Linked DNA regions of Homo sapiens: all the other regions are linked to region 3. The links are contacts of gene promoters, found by promoter capture Hi-C in blood cells and fetal thymus (Javierre and others, 2016). All regions are on one chromosome and are shown on one strand. Each heading gives the region's core, a stretch centred on a gene start or on the middle of the fragment in contact. The rest is flanking DNA. Distances are from core to core; before and after follow the strand shown.

What was found. Contacts are between HindIII fragments. The CHiCAGO score rates a contact against its expected background, and 5 or more counts as called.
Region 1: a fragment that was not itself captured here is called in contact with the fragment with the promoter of DGKD in region 3 in 1 of 17 cell types (monocytes); the score reaches 5.0 in monocytes.
Region 2: a contact is called between a fragment that was not itself captured here and the fragment with the promoter of DGKD in region 3, in 1 of 17 cell types (neutrophils). The highest score is 5.4, in neutrophils.

Annotation. Positions count from the first base shown.
Region 1 is chr2:232,850,160-232,852,859 of GRCh38, forward strand. It overlaps GIGYF2 (GRB10 interacting GYF protein 2), which reads left to right. Exons shown (of 29, transcript NM_001103146.3): 28 at 103-250. Among named protein-coding and RNA genes, the nearest start is that of SNORC, 19 kb to the right of the region's middle. The HindIII fragment of the contact is 2,651 bases long and covers 1-2,631 here.
Region 2 is chr2:233,084,332-233,087,031 of GRCh38, forward strand. All of the region lies in intron 2 of INPP5D (inositol polyphosphate-5-phosphatase D), which reads left to right. Among named protein-coding and RNA genes, the nearest start is that of INPP5D, 25 kb to the left of the region's middle. RefSeq lists a silencer at 208-502 and an enhancer at 493-542. The HindIII fragment of the contact is 5,674 bases long and covers 1-2,700 here.
Region 3 is chr2:233,353,066-233,355,765 of GRCh38, forward strand. DGKD (diacylglycerol kinase delta) reads left to right here and starts at 1,429. Exons shown (of 30, transcript NM_152879.3): 1 at 1,429-1,609. The coding sequence starts at 1,454. RefSeq lists enhancers at 879-938, 1,079-1,128 and a silencer at 1,379-1,618. The HindIII fragment of the contact is 8,442 bases long and covers 1-2,700 here.

The DNA of each region.
Region 1 (2,700 bases), core at 56-2,555, 500 kb before region 3:
TTAAGCTCATTCTTGATAAGGTGAGGACAAACCAAACATTTTCCTAGGGTGAGCCAAGTCTGAATCTGCTGTGTAATCTCAGTCATGCTGCTTATTTCACAGGACTCTGTGTGGGGGATGAACCACAGTACACTCCATTCAGTATTTCAGACCAATCAAAGCAACAACCAACAATCCAATTTTGAGGCTGTGCAGAGTGGCAAGAAGAAGAAAAAGCAGAAGATGGTCCGAGCAGATCCCAGTTTATTAGGTGAGCACGGTCCTAGTCTCAGCTGAGTGTTGGAGGAGTGCAGGTGATACCAGTTATCCTGTGTGAGTTTCCATTGAGCATTGTTTTTCAAGAAGGGAAATATTTCTTTTTATCAATAACTAATGTTTTAACTGGTTCAAAATAAGTAGCCAGTATTTACTGGGCGTCTCAGTGCAGGACCTGTGCCTCATGTAATAACAACTTATATTGTATGGTGCTTTAAAGTATTGTTTGGTGCTTTAAAGTATTGTTTGATATTTAATATGAATTTCCCTGGAGGATCCTGAGTAATTTAGTTGGAAAATGATGCTAATAATGAACGATACTAAAAGTATGTTAAAAACTTAAATGCTTATTTGTATTGAAAGCAGACCATTAATCCGATCAGGTGTTCCAAGAAGAGAACCAGTATATGTTCATAATCACTCTATGTATCATATAATTCTCAGAATTACTTTGCATTATGAGGTGACATACCAGTTTCACCAATAATGAGTAGACCAAGGCACAGAGATTGAGAACATTTCCCAGTGTTACATAGCTTTCTGCTATGGGATGCTGGGATTTCAAGGCAGGCCTGTTTTCTTTCCACCCTTCTGTGTTACCCACGGCTATTTTTATCTAGCATTATGGACCATGCAAGGCAGGCTGGGCACGGTGGCTCACTTTGGGAAGCTGAGGTAGGTGGGTCACTTGAGGCCAGGAGTTTGAGACCAGCTGGGGTAACGTAGCGAGACCATATCTCTAAAAAAAATTTTAAAAACAGGCATGGTGGTGCCCACCTATAGTCCCAGCTACTTGGGAGAATGAGGCAGGGGGATTCCTTGACCAGGAGTTGAAGGCTGCAGTGAGCTGTGATCATGCCACTGCACTCTAGCTTCTCTGAAAAGGTGACATCTGAATTTGGGCTTTGAAAGAATGGCAGAAAGGATGGGGAATATTGTTTCAGGAATAACAAACAGTATAGGCTGCCCATGTTTTTTGCAACAGTGATGAAACTAACATTTTTTTTTTCTTTTTCTTTTTCTTTGAGATGGAGTCTCACTCTTGCTCAGGCTGGAGTGCAGTGGCGTGATCTCAGCTCACTGCAACCTCTGCCTCCCGGGTTCAAGCGATTCTCTTGCCTCAGCCTCCTGAGTAGCTGAGACTACAGGCACATGCCGCCACACCTGGCTAATTTTTGTATTTTTAGTAGAGAGGGGTTTTTGCCATGTTGGCCAGGCTGGTCTTGAACTCCTGACTTCAGGTGATCTTCTTGCCTTGGCCTCCCAAAGTGCTGGGATTACAGGTGTGAACCGCCACGCCCGGCCCTAAAATTATTTTCTATTTGTGAATGTAAAATTAGTGGCTATAAAACCATGTTGTCTGCAATAGAATACATTCGCAAGGATGGAAGTTCCGGTTGTTGTCCTGTCAGGAGGGCAGAACAGTGAGGAGGCTGCAGTATAGACTAGGTAAAAGATACCAGTGACTTGGAATAGGGTTTTGGTAGTGGGGATGAAAAGGAGTTAGATGGATTTCAGAAATGTAGGGGATAGAATTAACTGGACAAGAAGAGTGGAAAGGTCTCAGGCTTGGGGACCAGGATGGATGGATGGTGTTGCCATTTGCTGTGAAATGATAAGCAGTGGAACATGGCACAGGCTGAGGGGAATTGAGTGTTGACTGGGTTGAGTTTGAAATGTCTGTGGGACATCATGAAGAGCGTGAGACCCCGCACAGTGAGAGGCAGGTGGTAACCTTACTGTACCCTTGGTAGGATTCTCTCTTTCCCTCAGAGCCTTCCAGCCCTGGTGAAAACAACATGACAGTAAAACCTAACTTTTAGGACTGTCCTTTAGAATTGGTGCCTGAAGCCAGACGCGGTGACTCACGCCTGTAATCCCAGATCTTTGGGAGGCTGAGGCGGGTGGATCGCTTGAGGTCAGGAGTTGGAGACCAGCCTGGCCAACATGGTGAAACCTCGTCTCTAGTAAAAATACAAAATTAGCTGGGCGTGGTGGTGGGTGCCTATAATCCCAGCTACTCGGGAAGCTGAGGCAGGAGAATCACTTGAGCAGCCTAGGAGGCGGAGGTTGCAGTGAGCTGAGATCACGCCACTGCACTCCAGCCTGTGCGACAGAGTGAGACTCCGTCTCAAAAAAATAATAATTTAAAATAATAATGTTTAAAATATTATTTAAAAATAATAATAACAAAGAATTGGTGCCTGAAAGCTGGGTTTGGGAACTTGTAGATCTGGTGCAATTCTGTTTTCCTCTGCTTGTCTCAAAAGTTGATAAGGATGGATGGAGCAGCCTGAAATTTTTTCCAATTTGGATGAAATTGGTGAATAGATTTTAAAACATTCCTTAAATTCTAACTGTGGGTTCTAGCTAAGAAGCTTTGGGACTTGAGGATAGGCTGTTAGGGAAAAGGTTGCTCTGAAAATGAGGTCAGACCGTTTGGAC
Region 2 (2,700 bases), core at 124-2,623, 270 kb before region 3:
GGCGTGAGCCACCATGCCCAGCCACACTCCCAGGTTTTCATGCAAGTTTAGATGAAGAGTTAGAAAATATCTATCTCATAGACCCTTTCATTATTCTTTCCCGATTTGGAAGAAAAAATCCAGTGGTCTGAGCCATTCCGGTGAGTTCTAAAGAAGAGACACTTGTGACTCAAGTCCCTGGTCCCTGACGGTGGCTGTCACGTATCTCCGGGCGACATGGCTTTTGGAGAGGGAAAACAAAACAACTTTCTAAAAGCTGTTCCGTCACAAGCATCCGGGAGGTGAACGGTTGAGCCATTGTTATTAAGCTCAGGAAGCGAGTGGCAGCTGTTATTGTTCTGAGTGGTCACTGAGTGAAGTAAAGATTCCGTCTGAGCCGCCGGGCAAAGGATGTGGCTCTAACACACTTCCTGAAGTTGCACAACAAGGGGCACAGAAAAGGTTCAGGGCATAGAAGCCTAGCACGGCCAGGGCTGCCCTGTGTGGGCTCCACAGCCATGCCAAGGACAATGGGCCCCAAGGGGGTCCGTGCTGGTGGAGGGGTTCCTTTATGCTCTGACACTCACCTTCTAGAAGCCTGCATTTTGAATTGGTTTTTCTGTCTACTGCAGAATATGGACAGATCTATTTTCCAAGCCTCTGAATATCTCAAAACATCTTTAGTTGTCTACACATTCAAGAGTAATTTGATAGATATAAAATTCTTGGAACCAACTGTTCGCTCAAAATCCTGTAAAAGGTACAGCACTACCTTCAAGAATGTAGTGTTACAGGCTGGGTGCAGTGGCTCACTCCTGTAATCCCAGCACTTTGGGAGGCTGAGGCAGGTGGATCACCTGAGGTCAGGAGTTTGGGACTAGCCTGGGCAACATGGTGAAACCCCGTCTCTACTAAAAATGCAAAACTTAGTCGGGTGTGGTGGTGCATGCCCGTAGTCACAGCTACTCCGGAGGCTGAGGTGGGAGGATCGCTTGAACCTGAGAGGCAGAGGCTGCAGCGAGCTGAGGTCTCACCACTGCACTCCAGCTGGGTGACAGAGCAAGACTGTCTCAAAGAAAAAAAAAAAAAAGAATGTAGCGTTATGAATAGTTCCGAGTACAAAATCCAAGGCCAAACTTGTGCTGGTTCCTATAGAGGCGACCCATTTTTTTCTTTTTTTCTACTTTGAAGCCGGTGGGAATTCTTTTCCAGTGTTGTCATTTTCCTTTCATTGATAGTACCTGCAATGTGTTCGGCTTGTTCACTTTGCAAACTCTGTTCTTTGACACAAAAGACCTTTCTTCTGTTAGGTCTTTGAGTAAGTTTTTATTCCAGCTCTTCTGGCATCTTTCTTCTAATCCCCTGAGAAAGCCAAGCCTCCCCCCGTTTTCTAGCCCCCTGGGGTACACATGCCTTTGTGACTGAGCAGCCCCTCCCTCTTGTGTGGCTGCAAGATCCCTAATCCCTTCCCCAGTCTGTCAGAGAATTCTGGAAAGAGTATCCATGCCATTTGTCATCTCTACCTCCAAATGACTGTCTTTATTTTCTCCCCATCCCCACTAGCCATTTTGTCCTTGTTTCTCCATGTTCCAGAGCCTTCTGGTTCACCTTGCCCCAGATCATGGGCCTGTTTCCTGTCTTTGTTACCCAAAGCGGTCTAGAACTAACATCAACATGCACCATGTAGCCGATAAGTTTAGACTGGGGAATGGGATGCAAGTGTAACCAATGAGATGTGAAGAGAAGGGCTTTGTGGGCTTCTAGTAAAGGTCTGTTTGTCTTAAAAACAGACATAGGGATAAGATAGCCTCTTTCTTTCTTTCTTTCTTTCTTTCTTTCTTTCTTTCTTTCTTTCTTTCTTTCTTTCTTTCTTTCTTTCCTTTTTGAGACAGAGTTTCGCTCTTGTTGCCCAGGGTGGAGGGCAATGGCATGATCTCGGCTCACCACAACCTCCGCCTCCTGGGTTCAAGTGATTCTCCTGCCTCAGCCTCCCAAGTAGCTGGGATTACAGGCACCTGCCACCATGCCGGGCTAATTTTTGTATTTTTAGAAGAGATGGGACTTCACTATGTTGGTCAGGCTGGTCTCGAACTCCTGACCTCAGGTAATCTGCTCGCCTTGGCCTCCCAAAGTGCTGGGATTACAGGTGTGAGCCACCGCACCCAGCCAAGATAGCCTCTTTCCTACCTTTGGAAGCTGCCATAGGATGTGATAGCTGGGTCTCTGCTGCTGCCTTGTAACCATGAGGAGAGGTAGCTGGCGAGTGAGGCCAACACACGGAAAGGAGAAGTGAACCTGGGTCCTGGATGATGCCCTTGAATTTGCTGAACAGAATGAAGCAACCTGGGATCTGCCCTCCTCTAGATTTTCTGTTTTGTGAGTTAATTAATTTCTTTTTGCTCAAGTTAGTTGAGTTAGGGTTTTCTAACAGCTAAAAGTGTCCTAACTTACAAAGGTTTAAACTATCCCAGGGGAATTTCAAAGCAGAAAAGTGAAAATTTCAAATTGAATATCGAGTTTCACTGCACCAAATGCCCATGAGCCACGGTCTGACAACACAGTCTCTGGGTCTTCCTTCTCCTTAGCCTGTGTCGTGTTTCTGGGACCTGCTCCAGCCCTGTCCCAGACATTCCTAATGACTTATGTTCCTGTCAGACATCCTTGGGCTCAACATCTCTTTCTCTAACCCTGACCAGAAAAAGCACAAAAATCAATCAGTAT
Region 3 (2,700 bases), core at 179-2,678:
GCTAAGCCACATGCGGCTACTGAGTCCCTGAAATGTGGCTCCTGTGGCTGAGGAACGGAATGCTGAATTCTAACTAATTGAAATTTAAGTAGCCACATGTGGCTAGTGGCTATAGTACCCTGGGGCACCATGGGGCCTTCGGCCTGTCCCGGACTGTTCCTGCCTTAGGCCTTGTCCTCCTCTGTCCTGGCCGTGAGCCCATGCCCCTGGCCGTGTCCCCATGCCAGATGCCACTCTGCAGCCCCAGGTCACTGCCCAGGGCGGCGCGGCCAGCGAATGCCTATTGGCAGGCGAGGTCTCTAGCGGCAGCCCTTTGACAGGGAGAGGGCACACCTGGGCAGTCCCTTACTGATTTGCCCCTCAGAGCAGGGCAGACAGATGGACAGCATTTCCTCTGGGTGGCACCAAGCCCTGCTCCACCTGGATGGCACCAAAAACTTAGCTGATCTCATCTCCAGCTTCGCTTCCTCCTCTTCTGCCCAGAGCAGCGCTGGACCCCACCCGCCCACCATCCAGCAGCCCCCCTGGGAAACATGGGACTCGTTCTGGTCACCTCTGTCTCCCTCCAGTCGCTGGTCACTCCCCACCTGGATCTCAGTCCACGTCTCTATCTCTCAGCCCCTCGGTAATCCAGGGCGTCCACCTGCCCTGATAACTTCAAAGCCCGGATCACAGGCCCCAGCGTGGTGACCCAGCCCCGCCCAGGGTTAAATCCCTCAAGGGCTTCCTGCTGCCTTCCATCCCCTTATCTGGTTTCCAAAGCCCGCTTCGACCTGCCCGCCCCGAGGCTCATATCTTAATGCCATTTTCCTTGCTCTAAGCACCAGCTTCCCTTTCTTCCCCCGTCTTCGCCCAACACTCGTTCTTTCTTGCCTCCAGGCCTTTGCACAAATCTGGTCTCTGCCTAGAACATGGTTCCCTCTCTAGTCACAACTCCTGCTCACATTTTCCATCTCTCCTTAAGAACCGTTTTCTCCAGGAAGCCTTCCCAGATGGAGCGGTGCATCCCAGCTCTGGCGTCCCGAGGCCCGTCCCAGTACCGGGGTCTCTTTCCAGCACGCGCGCGCGCATTCGAGCTCGCCCCAAACTCGGCCACACAAGGCTGGGCAGGACAGACACAGCCCCAGCCTGCCTGAGGTTACCTACATTCTGATGCGGAAGAGTAGAGATGTTTTAAGAAGTGAATATAGAAACAAGAACACAAACGGCGTTCCAGAAATAACACACAGAAGCCACGGCCCGGAGAGGTGGGCGGGGGGCCCGGGACGCTTCAGGTGGGGGCGGGGAGGGGCCGCGCGGCGCCGTCTGCAGCTGCGCGCATGGCCGGCAGGGGGCGCGGCGGGGAGAGGCGGGAGGCCGCCCCCACCGCCCCCGGCCCGGCCCGCCCTCGGCCCCGCCCCTCCCGCCGGCCCCGCCCCGCCCCCGCCCGCGGTGCGCGCGCTGGCCCGGCAGCATGGCGGCGGCGGCGGGCGCCCCTCCGCCGGGTCCCCCGCAACCGCCTCCGCCGCCGCCGCCCGAGGAGTCGTCCGACAGCGAGCCCGAGGCGGAGCCCGGCTCCCCACAGAAGCTCATCCGCAAGGTGTCCACGTCGGGTCAGATCCGACAGAAGGTGAGCCCGCGGCGCGGCGGCCCGGGCGCGCGCCCCTCACGCCGCGGCAGCCCCGGCCGAGGCCCGTGGCCCTGCCCGAGCGGCCGCCCAGGCCCGGCTCGGCCCGGCCCGGGGTCCCGCGGGCGTCACCGCCCCTGTCGAGCGTGCCCCGCCGCTGTAACGGGCCGGCGCCCCGGGCGGAGCGCGCGGCCCCCGACGGACGGCGGGCGGCTGTGGGGCCGGGCGGGGGGCGCGCAGGTGGGCGCCCCGGGCGCCGCGCGCTGGGCGGGGGGCGCGCGCCGAGTTGGGCCGCGAGGACCCGGAGGAAACTGAGGCCTAGATGCAGGGGACTGCGCTCGTGCCACCGAGCGGGTCCCACGCGGGGGCTCCCGGCTGCGCCCCGCGGGCGTCCGCGGTCCCCAAACCCCGGTTCTGCACGTTTCTCAGGAGCGGTCGGGTGGTGTCCCGCGAGTGCCCTGCAGACTTCCCTGTGGTGCCCTCAGAAGTCCGCTCGGACCCGGGTGCGAGGGATCACCCCTTCACCCCTTCATCCCAAAAGGGAAGGAAGGGATGCGCGTTCAGTGACCGTCTCTCTCAGCAAAGCCGGGACCGCGCACCCGCTTGGCACCCAACTCTCCACGGAGAACTCCTGACGCTAAATGTTAGATAAAGACGCACGTCCTTTTTGCAGGAGGAAAGTTGCACCGTTTGTTTTCCCATTGTGCTTCCTATTGAAAACAGCTTACGGTTTTTGCTCCAGGTGAGCCCGCCCGGTTAGAACACTGCTTCCTCAGGCAGGTGGCTGGACAGGTGGCTGCGAGCAGGCTGGGTCCCTGGGGCAGCTCTGGCAGATCCGGTTGGCACGGACTTTCTCCTCCTGCTGCAGTGCGCTTTTCCTCCGGGGCGGATTAGGTTCAGCCGTTCCCTTCACCGTGGGAGCCTTCTCTTCTGTCAGCCTTTGATACCTGCGATGGGGGAACCTGAGGTCCTAACATGTTACAAACAGGTTTGTTGTGAAGTGCTCCAGTTATTCAGCAAATAGGTACCGAACACCTGCTTTGTTCCGGGTATAACAGTAGCAGTAGTGATGATAATGATAGCAATAGCAAATA